Linked DNA regions of Homo sapiens: regions 1, 3, 4 and 5 are each linked to region 2. The links are contacts of gene promoters, found by promoter capture Hi-C in blood cells and fetal thymus (Javierre and others, 2016). All regions are on one chromosome and are shown on one strand. The core of a region is centred on a gene start or on the middle of the fragment in contact, and the rest is flanking DNA. Distances in the headings are between cores, read along the strand shown. Region 1 overlaps LOC105377939 (a long non-coding RNA gene). Region 2 holds the start of GTF3C6 (general transcription factor IIIC subunit 6). Region 3 overlaps SLC16A10 (solute carrier family 16 member 10). Region 4 overlaps LOC105377941 (a long non-coding RNA gene). Region 5 overlaps SLC22A16 (solute carrier family 22 member 16).

Region 1 (2,700 bases), core at 91-2,590, 410 kb before region 2:
ATTGTATAACGAACATGTATTATTTGCAGAGTAAAAAGAATAGAAAATAACCAAATGTCAAGACTGCAACTGGGGTGGAGCCAAGCTGCTGCGGATGTTGCCAAGGGCCCTTCCCGGGAGAGCCAGGTGGGGTACCCACATGCCACCTTCTCCTCAGGTGGAGCCACCGCCTGTGGCCTCCTGTGGGGCCAGCCTGGACTGCAGCTGCCAGGACCTAGTGATGGCCCCAAACCTGAGAGTGGGCCCAGAGTCCCACCCCGCTAACCATGCTGAAAAAGGCCACAGGGCACATGAAGCCTTTGCTCCCTGGATCAGGTCACGCTCTCCAGTTTTCCTTCCAGGAGGACAGGCCATGCACTAAAAAACAGCTGCAGAGGAAAGGCTGGACCAGGTGTGCTGGGAGTCACCAGGAGCAAGGTGGTGAAGGTGAGTTTTCTCCTGAGCCCCTCCTGGGACTCATTAGCACCTCACCATCTGCTGGGAACCATCTTTACAAATGTAATTGTGCCTGTTGGGGGAAGACAGGTTTTTTGTTCTTTTGTTTTGTTTTTTTTTGTTTGTTTGTTTTCTTAAAGACAGAAAAGGCTTTTTCATTTTCTGAAGCCCTTTCAAATGTGCTCAACCTTATCCAGAGGGTAGCAGATCTGTTAATTACATCTTGGGCGGGTCCAAAATTTTACCACTGTTTTCAGGTATTAACCCTCAGTCCACTTTAAAACATTAATTCCAAACGATTCTACTCTCACCTCATCTCCCAGCGCCACTGCCCTCTCCCGGTCCAGTGCAAGCTTGGACCTGGACCCTGAATGAGGGAGGTCTATTTCTGGGACACTCCTCCACTCTCGCTTTCCGCTTTGGGAAATAGTTCCTCTAGTGCGCTGGGCTGAGAGGTAGGACAGAGAAAGGGCAGAGGGTCGTAAACTAACAGGGCAGCGGTAGCCTTCTCTCTAGTGGTAGCCTTCTCTCTAGTGGTAGCCTTCTCTCTAGCGGTGTCCCACTGGGACTGGCTGTGAGGCAGGCATCGACGTGCTAGCCTTCTCTGGAAGACACATCTGGGTTCTTTTAGAGAGACTTGCAGGGCACGGATATGGTAAATCCAGGCTCAACCACCTCCATGCCCCTCAACTCCCATGACTGGATATGTACTCTACGGACTCTTTGAGCTCCCCGGTAAATAGGAGAGAGAACCCTGTTGGGGTAGGGATGGAACAAATCCAGCTGCCTTCTAAGTAGCATCCACTTGAACTGCAGGAAATGCGTTTTCTGGCCCTGACCAACTGGGTGAGTTCAGACTGCCCCTGCAGCTCTTCTTTGTGCCCTTTCTTCTTTCTCCAAGACCCTCCTCTATCCCTAATGATGTATGAATAAGCCAGCAAATCCTTTTCCTAATCAAATGTCCAACAGGGGAGCTACTTTACATTCCAATATTTGTGGAATCATTTTATTAGAACCTTACTAGGGAGGAAAGCACAGCCACCCCATTTCCCATAACCACAGGAAGGGCAGGAAGTCCCCTCTCCTCACACGTCCTGTGCTCCAGTGACCCTTAGACTTATTTCTCTCTCTCCCTCCTTCCCAGTCTTACTGGGTAGAAGGTGGAGTTGGCGGTAACACAGCCACATATGTCACCTCTTAGGAATCCTTGGTTCTCAGCTCTGGTGGGTGTCAGCTCAGGCAAAGAGTACTTCTCTGTCCTCACTTTTGGGTCCTGGAAGCCTCCACAGAAAGACTCCCCATTCATAGCTTGTTGCATGTTTAGAGTAGTTGAAGTTCCACTTCCAGAACTCTTCATTCTTTTTGTAGAGCCAGAATTTTATCTGGTATCATTGTCCTTCTGCTTGAAGGACATCCCTTAACATTTCTTATAGTATAGGTCCTCAGAGGATCATTTTTTAAGCTTTTGTATGTTTGAAAAAGTATTTTGCATTTGTTTTTGAAAGACATTTTTGCTGGGTATAGAATTAGTGGCCATTTCATGTGAAAGACAAAAAAAAAAAAACACCCAAAAACCTAGAATTCTAGGTTGACAATATTTTTCTCTGATTACTTTAAAGATTATTGTTCCTCTGTCTTCTCACTTGCTTGCTTCTGACATGAACTCTGCTGCCATTCTTATCTTTGTTCTCCTGTTTCTAACATAATTTTTTTCCTGTTGTTAATTTTAAGATTTTCTCTTTATCACTGGTATTGAGCAATTTGATTATGATGTGTCTTGTTATAATTTCCTTCATGTTTCTCTTGCTTGAATTTTATCTTGCTGAGTGCTGGATATTCTTTTTCTTTTTATTTTTTTGAGACGGAGTCTCACTTTGTCTCCCAGGCTGGAGTTCAGTGGCGTAATCTCAGCTCAGTATAACCTCTTCCTCCCAGGTTCAAACGATTCTCCTGCCTCAGCCTCCTGAGTAACTGGGACTACAGCACCTCCCCCACCACACCTGGCTAATTTTTGTATTTTTAGAAGACACAGAGTTTCACCATGTTTGAGGCCAGTCTGGTCTCAAAATCCTAACCTCAAGTGATCCACCTTCCTCGGTCTCCCAAAGTGCTGGGATTATAGGTGTGAGCCACCATGCCTGGCCTGGATATTCTTTAAAAAACAAACAAACACACAAAAAAACTTTTGAGTGTTGTTCTAGAACACAGTTAATTTACTTGAAAACAGTTCGATCCTTTCATGACTTGTTTTTTGTTTGTTTGTTT
Region 2 (2,700 bases), core at 160-2,659:
GGAAGCAGAGGTAGGAGGCTCCCTTTGAGCCCAGGAGTTTGAGGGTACAGGGAGCTACGATGGCGCCACTGCACTCCAGGCTGGGCGACAGAGCCAGACCCTGTCACAAAAAAGAAAGGAAAGAAAGAGAGAAAGAAAGAAACAAACAATGAATAAAAGAAAGAGAGAAAGAGCATCATACTAAAAAATTTATATATTACTACTAATAATAGATTAAATGCACTTTAAATGCTTACTATGTGCTGAATACTGGGCTAAATTTATTTTATATGTATTGTCTCATTTAATCCTCACAACCACCAATCTGCCCAAAGCCTTGCTGTTAATAATGCAGCAGAACTTGACTGGTATTAAAATCCAAAGCTCAGGCTGGGGACGGTGGCTCACACCTGTAATCCCAGCATTTTGGGAGGCCCAGGCAGGGGGATCGCCTGAGGTCGGGAGTTCGAGACCAGCCTGACCAACATGGAGAAACCCCGTCTCTACTAAAAATAACAGAATTCGCCGGGCGTGGTGGCGCATGCCTATAATCCCAGCTACTCGGGAGGCTGAGGCAGGAGAATCGCTTGAACCCGGGAGGTGGAGGCTGCAGTGAGCCGAGATTGCACCATTGCACTCCAGCCTGGGTAACAAGAGCAAAACTCCATCTCCAAATAAATAAATAAATAAAAATCCAAAACTCACGATCTTAACCACTAGATCACGCTATCGCAAGTACGAAGACCGTTTCTTTCACAATCACAAACATCTATGGGATACTTCTGAAAATTCTGTTCAAACTTCTCTTGCCCAGGTCTCTGTGTTCCTATAACAATGTGTATCTCTTACAGCACTTGCTTGGATCCATTTATGTACCTCTCACAGATCTTATGCTCCTGCAGGCCTGAAACTTAAGCCCACTTTCTATTTTTCATAGCTCCTGGTGCAGTGCTTTTTACTGTGTAGGCGCTCATTAGTATTAAACTGAATGTGCCTTTAACTTGGCTTGGGGTACGTTGAATTGAGGATGAGCGCTCACACAATATTAAGAATTTCTTTCCAAGAAATGTGCTCGGGTCAAACACAAGGCCTTTCTGTCCATGATCCGCCTGAAACCATGGTTTCCTTGTTTTCGCCTTTATCCCTTCTGCCTTGCCAGTCCTCCCCGCCAGCGGGGCCGAGAGCCCGGCGACTCTTGCGTGACCGAGCGGGCTCCGCTGCCTACGGCAGCCCACCCCCAGCCCCTGCTCTGAGGCACCGAGAAACGAGGAGGCCCGTGGCGAGTCTCCACGTGGGTACCGGCGCTCTCGGCGCCCGTAGCCACCCGCCCGCCGGAAGCCGACATCTCGAGTTCTGGCAGAAGCAATTTGCGCGGCGAGGAGCGGAGCGGCAGGAACCCAATAAGCTGCTTCGCCTCGGAGCTGAAGCCCGTACTCAAGATGGCGGCTCCGGGCGGGCGTGGCCAGTGACTAGAAGGCGAGGCGCCGCGGGACCATGGCGGCGGCGGCGGACGAGCGGAGTCCAGAGGACGGAGAAGACGAGGAAGAGGAGGTAGTAAGCGCTACGCCAAAAGCCTGCACCGCAGTGGCGGTGATGCCTGTGCTGGCTGTGTGTGGGGAAGGGAGTTGGGGAGCTGCGGGCCGGAGGGAGGCCCCACTGCTCCTCACCGGCTTCTTGCTCCTGGGCGCGAGGAGCCGGGCAGCTTGGGACCTTAGCCCTAATCGTCACCCCGTACTTGGGATGGGAAGTACCGGGAAGTTACCTTAGGTAGCGTAGTTTCCTCTTGCTGAAAACAGGGTCCGGTTTTCACAAATGTGGGAAATTTGGCTTCTTTTGCTAATTGCTCCCTCTTGGCCGCTCGCGTGCTAGCATGTTAACCCCTCTTTCTTTCACCAGGAGCAGTTGGTTCTGGTGGAATTATCAGGAATTATTGATTCAGACTTCCTCTCAAAATGTGAAAATAAATGCAAGGTTTTGGTGAGTTTTCTAGACTTGGGGGGATTGTTCTAGAGTGTCTTAAATGTAAAACAAGAATCAATGGTGAAATACCTATCCGCAAGTATTGATATATTTATTTCACCTTACAAAGTAGTGAACTCTAAGGATAAGAAGTATACTAAGTATAATTAATTAATATGTAATTAAGTATAATGTAGAAGTACAGCGGGGACTATGGGAGCAGATAGGAGAAAATGGCTAACTTTGCTTGCCTGTTTGAATGTGTGGCTGAAGAGAAAGTTACAGATTTGGAGGAAGTAACATTGTGATATGGAACCGTACATATATTCCTGTATTCTCAGCACTTTGGGAGGCAGAGGTGGGAGGATCACTTGAGCCCAGGAATTGGAGACCATCCTAGGCAACATAACGAGACCCCTTCTCTAAAATAATAATAAAAAAAAATGGCCAGGCGCGGTGGCTCACGCCTGTAATCCCAATACTGGGAGGCCGAGGCGGGTAGATCACGAGCCCAGGAGTTCGAGACCAGCCTGGCCAACATGGTGTAACCCCGTCTCTACTGAAATACAAAAATTAGCCAGGCATGGTGGTGGGCGCCTGTAATCCCAGCTACTCGGGAGGCCGAGACAGGAGAATCGCGTGATCCCTGGAGGCAGAGGTTGCAGTGAGCCGAGATCGCGCCACTGTACTCCAGCCTGGGCAACAAAGGGCAAAACTCCATCTCAATAAAAAAAAAAAATAATAATAATAATAAATTAGCTG
Region 3 (2,700 bases), core at 48-2,547, 270 kb after region 2:
CTAATATGGCCTGTGGATCTGACAAAGAAAAACCTGAAGAAATTCAGAATCTAGATACACTTAGATTCTAAATTAGACACACTCAGATTCTAATGAACACTTAGAATGCTTCGCCAGTGGCTTTTCAAGTTACACTGGAAGCTTGATTATGAAAAAGTTTTGTTTTCATTGGCAAGAGGGTAGATGATCAGTGATGACAGATTGTACAGCTGTGCCCAAACCTGACAACTTACACATTAAACTCCTGTAAGAGACACTCCTTCCTAGTAGAACAAGGACTGGGACAATGAATTTTTGACTCACTGGAGTTTTTTAAAATGCTGTTCTTGAGTGTGGCAATAGTGTAGGAGTTAACCCAGTCTACCCAAAGAAGTTGCTTTGCCTTTCAATATGAGTGCTATAAAAAGAGTATTTTGGAGTTCAATGTCCCTAAACATGTATGCGATAGGAACTACCAATATAAAATAACACTTAGAACTCAAATTAGATTGGTAATACTATTTTGGAGCCTGTGATGTATGACTTTTATTCTTTACTAGATATTTTTCAGTATCCGTCATTAGAAGAGTCAGTTTGTTAAATATTTTAAATGTGTAAACACAAAACCTTTCTACTGTGATCTTCCCTAATGAGTCAAAGTATCTTTCATAATTCAGTCTATATTGAAATGTTATTTCAGGAATGGAGGGTTTGTTATTAATAGTGCTGGGCCGGGCACGGTGACTCATGCCTGTAATCCCAGCACTTTGGGAGGCCGAGACAGGCGAATCACCTGAGGTCAGATGTTGGAGACCAGCCTGACCAACATGGAGAAACCCCATCTCTACCAAAAATACAAAATTAGCCGGGCGTGGTGGCTCCATGCTGTAATCCCAGCTACTCGGGAGGCTGAGGCAGGAGAATTGCTTGAACCCAGGAGGTGGAGGTTGCAGTGAGCCAAGATTGCACCATAGCACTCCAGCCTGGGCAACAAGAGCAAAACTCTGTCTCAAAAAAAAAAAAAAAAAAAATAGTGCTGCATTTTGACCCTGGACTATGAACAGACTGTATAGTTGGTGCCTCTTTTTTTTCTACCAAAGATTATTAGATCAAGATTGGTGCTATACTTCATGTTCCTTTCAAAATTATTTTTCTTTTAAAAATATTAATATACAACACAATAGAAAATGTATACAGCCAGCAACGTTATGCATGTTGCATGTTATATACATGACTGAGGAAAAAAGCTCACCTATACAGTGATTATTGAGTTCCAGTATCTAGTTAGAGGTATGCAATTTTTGTTAACATATAAGACTTTAAATTACGAAACTCACAAGAAAATGATCACCAAATGAGAATGTTCTAATGAACACAACCTCCCAAGGTAATAATTTTAAAGAAAAAGTCCCTTGTCAATGTTTCTAGCACAAAGTGAGGGATTTAAATATATTCTGTAACTTTGAGGCAATGTGAAAAAGTTATATATAATAGCTTCCTATTGAGCTGGCTTATGTAGACATTTGGACATTTGAAACTATTTCGCAACTTTCAGGCTAAAATCAGAGTTTTGAGAGTCATCAATCTTAAAACATGGATAATGAGTTATTTGCACAGTTATATTTTTATAATTATTTGAAATTTATCACTGAAAGTATCATTGTTTGTCTTTCAGATTTAACATAAACAATAAGTACTGCGGCTGGGTCACTGTCAGCAAATCTCAGGTCTATGATTTATCAAGGGCTCTCAGCACCATCGTTGGTCTGATTGTGTAACACCTAAGTAAAATAACATATGGGTCTCCTTGGCCAGGCGCCGTGGCTCACACCTGTAATCCCAGCACTTTGGGAGGCCAAGGCAGGCGGATTGCTTGAGGCCAGGAGTTCGAGACATACGGGTCTCTTTAATGTTCTGTAGGTAGGATTCAGATGAATTGAGAATGACAGGTTTCTTTTTCTTTCTTTGTTTCTTTTTTTTTTTTTTTTTTGAGATGGAGTCTTGCTCTATTGCCAGGCTCCATATAGTGGCGCGATCTCAGCTCACTGCAACCTCCGCCTCCCGGGCTCAAGTGATTCTCGTGCCTCAGTCTTCTGAGTAGCTGGGACTACAGGTGCCCACTACCACACCGGCTAATTTTTGTATTTTTGGTAGAGATGGAGTTTCACCATGTTGGCCAGACTGGCCTTAAGTGATCCACCTGCCTCAGCCTCCCCAAGTGCTGGAATTACAGGCATGAGCCACCATGCCCGGCTAGAGAATGACAGGTTTCAGTTGAATTCTTCTCTTTTAAAAGACCCTGACTTAACTGTATTTTATGAGGATTTTATAAATGTAAATTAAGAAGACAATACACACTCTCATTTTCCTAATTAGAAAGACTATGCATTCACAATCCAGTACACTGGATTTGCTCTGGTAACTAATGATAACACTTTTCTACGTTAACATGAGTTATATTTGGCAGAGAGAATGGAAGCTTGCTAATCAGAAGTTACATTAGGGTGAGATTAAACATCACTCTAATAATAACTTCTGATGTAACTTAATGTGGTTTGAGATGTGTAAGATTGTAGAGGCATTGCACAATGCTTGATAAAAGTTGCATTTTGCTTTTGTTCTTCCACCAGTTTATTTTAGCCTTAAAGTTATAGCTACAACAAATTGAACCCTGTAGTTATTACTGAAAGAGAGTGTGGATATTTTAAGTATCTCCTAGTA
Region 4 (2,700 bases), core at 19-2,518, 370 kb before region 2:
ATCCTTTGTCATTCTGGTACTGTCCCATAATGATCTGTGATCCTAGTTAATGAAGTGTTTTGATATTTTTGACAAACTTTCCAAACCAAGCCTTTGATATTGATAAAAATCAAACCTTTAACATTGCTATTAATATTGACAAACATTTTGGTATTTTTGACAAACTTTCCAAAATCAAATTCTTAAAATTAAGCCTTTTTTACCCCACATTGACTTTGGAACCTCCCAGGGGCCCTGGAAGGTCTTCTTATAAAAGAGAAATGTTAAGCTAATTAGGCTTAATTGATACATTAAATTTGCAGAATAAACATTGTCAAATAAGCAATCATGATTGAGTGTTTACGTGTTCCAGAAATTATGTGAAATTCCGAGAAGTCTGATATGTCCTGGCATAATGTTATCAGTCATAATTCTGGTTATTATGTTAAAATGTTGTATGTCACAGAAATAATGATTTTACCTGTCAGTTGTGTCATTATCATAATAAACTCTCATTAGATCTTTAACCATGACCTTTTTTTTTTTTTTTTTTCAGATGGAATCTCACTCTCTCGCCCAGGCTGGAGTGCAGTGGCGCCATCTCAGCTCACTGCAGTAGCTGGGACTACAGGCGCCCGCCACCACACTCGGCTAATTTTCTGTATTTTTAGTAGAGACGGGGTTTCACCATGTTAGCCAGGATGGTCTCAATCTCCTGACCTCGTGATCTGCCCGCCTCGGCCCCCAGAGTGCTGGGATTACAGGTGTGAGCCACCGCAACCATGACCATTTTAAGTCTTGTCATCCATAGACAGTAAATTGTTTCACTCTGATGCTCTCCTGAAAGGTTTTGCAAGCAGCTATAATCCTAAAATAGTGTATCTCTAAGGATAAGAACTTCCAGAACTCTAAGTTCTTACACAGTCCAATAGTATATTCCTATGTTACCGGAAACCTGTACTTGTCAGAGTTCTTTCCATAAATTTCCTAGGAATATACTATTGGACTGAGTAAGAACTTCCAGAACTCTAGTGGCCGGGTGTGGTGGCTCATACCTGTCATCCCAGCACTCTGGGAGGCCGAGGCAGGTGAATCACAAGGTCAGGAGTTCGAGATCAGCCTGGCCAACATGGTGAAACCCTGTCTCCACTAAAAATACAAAAAAAAAAATTAGCTGGGCGTGGTGGTGGGCGCCTGTAATCCCAGCTACTTGGGAGGCTGAGGCAGGAGAATCGCTTGAACCCGGGAGGCGGAGGTTGCAGTGAGCCAAGATTGCACCACTGCACTCCAGCCTGGGCAACAGTGTGAGACTCTGTCTCAAAAAAAAAAAAAAAAAAAAAAAAAAAGAACTTCCAGAACTCTTATGAAGAAACAAATTGGTTCATAAGTTGCTAGCCCAACATCAAGCAAAATGAGAATTAATTATGTGGAACTAAATGAACTGATGAAAAAGAATCAGGCTGGGTGCAGTGACTCATGCCTGTAATCCCAGCATTTTGGGAGGCTGAGGCAGGCAGATCACTTGAGCCGAGGAGTTCAAGACCAGCCTGGCCAACACAGCAAAACCCTGTCTCTACTAAAAATACAAAAAATTAGCTGGGAATGCTAGTACATGCCTGTAATCCCAGTTACTCAGGAGGCTGAGGCATAAGAACCACTTAAATCCTGAAGGCGGAGGTTGCAGTGAGCCACGATTGTGCCACTGCACTCCAGCCTGGGTGACAGGGCAAGACTGTCTCAAAAAGAGAGAGAGAGAGAAATAATTCAGTTTTTGTTTTGTTTTGTTTTTGTTTTAGAGACATGTTGCCCAAGCTGGCTCGACTCAAACTCCTCGGCTCAAGCAGTCTTTCCATCTCAGCCTCCTGAGTAGCTGGGACTACAGGCATATGCCACCACATCCAGCAGTAATTTTTTAAAATTATCTTTTGCATATTTGTATTTCAGATTTAAGGGATTTTTAAAATCTATCTATAGTTTACAAGAATTTGGTAAATTATACCTTTGTAACATAATTGAAACAATCCCTTTTTTCTCCCTACTTGATCTCTCCATAATTCAGAAACTGTTAGTGAGAAAGGGTTGTGCTCTGTCGCCCAGGACAGAGTACAGTGCCATCATCATGGCCTCCTGCAGCGTTGACCTCCCAAGCTCAAGTGATCCTCTTACCTCAGCCCCAGGTAGATGGGACTACAGGCATGTAACATGATACCCAGCTGATTTGTTTGTTTTTTGTAGAGACAGGGTCTCACTATGTTGCCCAGGCTGGTCTTGAACTCCTGGGCTCAAGAAATCCTCCCACTGAGTGTAAACTAGTTCAACCATTGTGGAAGACAGTGTGGCAATTCCTCAAAGATCTAGAACTAGAAATACCATTTGACCCAGCCATCCCATTACTGAGTATATACCCAAAGGATTATAAATCATGCTACTATAAAGACACATGCACATGCATGTTTATTGCGGTACTGTTCACAATAGCAAAAACTTGGAACCAACCCAAATGTCCATCAATGATAGACTGGATTAAGAAAATGTGGCACATATACACCATGAAATACTATGTAGCCATAAAAAAGGATGAGTTCATGTCCTTTGCAGGGACATGGATGAAGCTGGAAACCATCATTGTCAGCAAACTATCACAAGGACAGAAAACCAAACACCGCATGTTCTCACTTATAGGTGGGAATTGAACAATGAGAACACATGGACATAGGGAGG
Region 5 (2,700 bases), core at 1-2,500, 490 kb before region 2:
TTTGGGTTTGTTCCCTAACTAGTCTCTACCTGGAACAGCTCCACCACTGAAAAGCTCAGGTTCTGAGCATGACCTCCCACCCTCTTACTTCCCCCATCCTTCCCACTGACCCCATTTCCAGCACCATTCAGGCGTCCAGTCTTCAGATCCTACCAGCTTCTTCAGTTAGTTTCTACCTTCCTGGCCTCAGTTTTTTTCTTCCTCAGCCAGTGACCCCCACAGTCATCACCACATCACCAGAACTATTCTCTCTCTCTCTTCCCCTCTCCTTCTCTCTTTGTGTCTTTTTCTCTTGTGCACACACACACATACACCAACACAGCACCCACCCTGGCAGGCCTCTGAAGCTAGGATTTGTCTTTTCTGTCCCCCTCTTAGCAATCGTGATTCAGGAGGTCTAAGGTGGGGTCAAGGCCCCTACAAGCTTAAGAAGCTTCTTAGGAGATGCTGATACGGATGAAAACATTGCCCCAGGATATCTAGTTTTCTGGTTAAACTATGTACTGGTACAAGGTTTGACATTCAAAATACTGGACAATTGTTGTGGAGCAACTGAAAAACCAATAAACAGCTTGTGAGGGTGACATTTGTTATAACCATTTTGCAAAACTCTCTGGCAGGGGACCACATGCACCGCCTGTGACAGCATCTCCTAGGTATCTACCCAGCGAAATGCATACACAGGTAGAGCCACATGCCACAAAACGACGTTTCGGTCAATGATGAACCACATATACAACAGTGGTCCCATAAGATTATAATATTAATATCATATTTTTACCACACCCTTTCCATGTTTAGGTACACAAATACTTCCCATTGTGTTACAATTGCCTACAGTATTCAGTACAATAACATGCTGTGCAGGTTTGTAGTCTAGGAGCAGTGGGCTATACCATAGAGCCTAAATGTGTAGCAGGCTGTACCATCTAGGCTTGTGTAAATAAAATCTGTGATGTTTGCAGAACAACAAAATCACCTAACGATGAACTTCTCAGAAGTATCTCTGTCGTTAAGCAAAATATAACCCTACCCTAAAAGACAAATGCAAGAAAGGCAACTCATATAAGCCCAACCTGGACACAGTCTAAACGTCTGTTGACAGTAAATGAATGAACCGTGAAATATTTGTGCCATTAAATACTATGTAGCTGTGAAAATCGACTAACCTCTGTGACACACAATATGGGTGGATCTCACAAACACAGTGTGGAACAAAAGAAGCCAAAGGGCAAGTGCCTTTTACCCCACTTATGTAACATTTAGTATCGTTGATGTAAGGACAGTAGTGAGCTTGGGGGACAGGGACGGAGTAGGGCTTGGGAGAAGGCATAAGAGGAGATGATTTGGGTGGGGGTAACACAGGTGTGTTCACTGTATGACAACTCATCAGGCTGTAGATTATGGTGGACACTTTTCTGCATATATGTAATATATCAATTTAAAAGTTTTCTATCTACAGCGCCCAGGGAGAGGGAAAACTATTCAGCAACACCCCTGCTGAGGCACAGCTGGAACAGGTGCCAGGCATGCCTAATCTGTCCACAAGGCACTGGTCCAGCTGGACTGCAGCCCTGGGTGGCCACCTGATCCATATTGACAAGGGGGCATTTTCCCTGAGCAACAGATTATCTACCCAACTTCCCACTTGATGTCTCCACCTGGAATTCCCACAAGGAACTCAAGGTAAACCAATCTCAAACTGAGCTCGATATCTAGGCCTGCCCCGCCTGGAGGGTAACTTTCTGAGTTTAGGCTACCATCACCCACACAAACTAGAAATCCAGGGCATGGGACATGGGGTGGGCTAGGAGGGGCATGTGGTCCCATTCACTTCTCCTTCATGCCTTAGGGCCAAGAGCTCCCATCAACTCCACCTGCTAAAACTGTCTGGTTCTCCCTGCCCACACTCCCACTCTCCAGACCCTCTTTCTCTCTCACCTGGGCTCTTATCTAGGTCTTCACTGGCCCCCTTGCCCCACTCGCTGCCCCTCCAATCCACCCTCTGCACTGCAAAACCCAAACTTCTGATACCCAAACTTTGCAAAAACACTCATGGAGATGACTGTAAGCTTACCTCCTGCCTCTCTCACTCTCATATTTTATACCCCCAAAATAATAAACCACTAAGTGGCCCCCAATCAAGCCATGCTAGTTCACATAAACACACTTTCCATGTGCTAGAAAGGTCCTAAGCACTCCTTCAATTCAAATTTCCCTTTCCCTTTTGCAAGAATAACCTCTTGAAAAAAAACCAAGCCCCATTTCCTTAGGCGTCTAGCATTCTAACACATCACTCTCTCTTTTACAAAGATTCTTGGCCCTCAGAGGTGTCATGCATGTACCCAACCTAGGGGTCCACCAGGACAACAGGCTTATAGATATGACACTCTAATGGAAAAATAATCACACAAACACAATCGGCAGAAAACCCAGAGGCGAGGAAAAGCAAGGGCGGCCAGAAGCCCCAGGGAATGGACCCATGCAATCTGAGTGACGGATGAAGAAAACTGCTTTCAGTCCTAGATTATACCATTCCATATAAAAGCATAACTGGTGGAGTCCATCATGGCTAAGAGCATGGACTCTGGAGCCAGACTGCCAAGGTTTGATCTTGGCCCTGTTACTTACCACCAGGGACCATGAGCAAGATCCTTAGCCTTTCTGTGCCTCAGTTTCCTCATCTAAACTATGGGCTTT

What was found. The method cuts DNA at HindIII sites, captures the fragments that hold promoters and counts their contacts. A CHiCAGO score of 5 or more calls a contact.
Region 1: a fragment that was not itself captured here is called in contact with the fragment with the promoter of GTF3C6 in region 2 in 6 of 17 cell types (erythroblasts, M1 macrophages, fetal thymus and 3 more); the score reaches 7.0 in erythroblasts.
Region 3: a contact is called between a fragment that was not itself captured here and the fragment with the promoter of GTF3C6 in region 2, in 1 of 17 cell types (M2 macrophages). The highest score is 5.8, in M2 macrophages.
Region 4: a contact is called between a fragment that was not itself captured here and the fragment with the promoter of GTF3C6 in region 2, in 1 of 17 cell types (M2 macrophages). The highest score is 5.3, in M2 macrophages.
Region 5: a contact is called between a fragment that was not itself captured here and the fragment with the promoter of GTF3C6 in region 2, in 5 of 17 cell types (M2 macrophages, M1 macrophages, M0 macrophages and 2 more). The highest score is 14.3, in M2 macrophages.

What each region holds. Positions count from the first base shown.
Region 1 is chr6:110,550,287-110,552,986 of GRCh38, forward strand. It overlaps LOC105377939 (a long non-coding RNA gene), which reads left to right. Exons shown (of 3, transcript XR_942862.3): 2 at 30-426. Among named protein-coding and RNA genes, the nearest start is that of SLC22A16, 75 kb to the left of the region's middle. The HindIII fragment of the contact is 1,109 bases long and covers 787-1,895 here.
Region 2 is chr6:110,957,297-110,959,996 of GRCh38, forward strand. It overlaps GTF3C6 (general transcription factor IIIC subunit 6), which reads left to right and starts at 1,410. Exons shown (of 6, transcript NM_138408.4): 1 at 1,410-1,530; 2 at 1,876-1,956. The coding sequence starts at 1,474. RefSeq lists an enhancer at 1,283-1,732. The HindIII fragment of the contact is 8,604 bases long and covers 1-2,700 here.
Region 3 is chr6:111,228,040-111,230,739 of GRCh38, forward strand. SLC16A10 (solute carrier family 16 member 10) reads left to right here. Exons shown (of 6, transcript NM_018593.5): 6 at 1-2,700. All of the region lies in intron 2 of SLC60A2-DT (SLC60A2 divergent transcript), which reads right to left. Among named protein-coding and RNA genes, the nearest start is that of SLC60A2-DT, 30 kb to the right of the region's middle. The HindIII fragment of the contact is 2,317 bases long and covers 140-2,456 here.
Region 4 is chr6:110,582,464-110,585,163 of GRCh38, forward strand. The region is part of intron 1 of LOC105377941 (a long non-coding RNA gene); the gene reads left to right. Among named protein-coding and RNA genes, the nearest start is that of SLC22A16, 110 kb to the left of the region's middle. The HindIII fragment of the contact is 4,551 bases long and covers 1-2,700 here.
Region 5 is chr6:110,470,392-110,473,091 of GRCh38, forward strand. The region is part of intron 1 of SLC22A16 (solute carrier family 22 member 16); the gene reads right to left. Among named protein-coding and RNA genes, the nearest start is that of SLC22A16, 4.9 kb to the right of the region's middle. The HindIII fragment of the contact is 1,639 bases long and covers 432-2,070 here.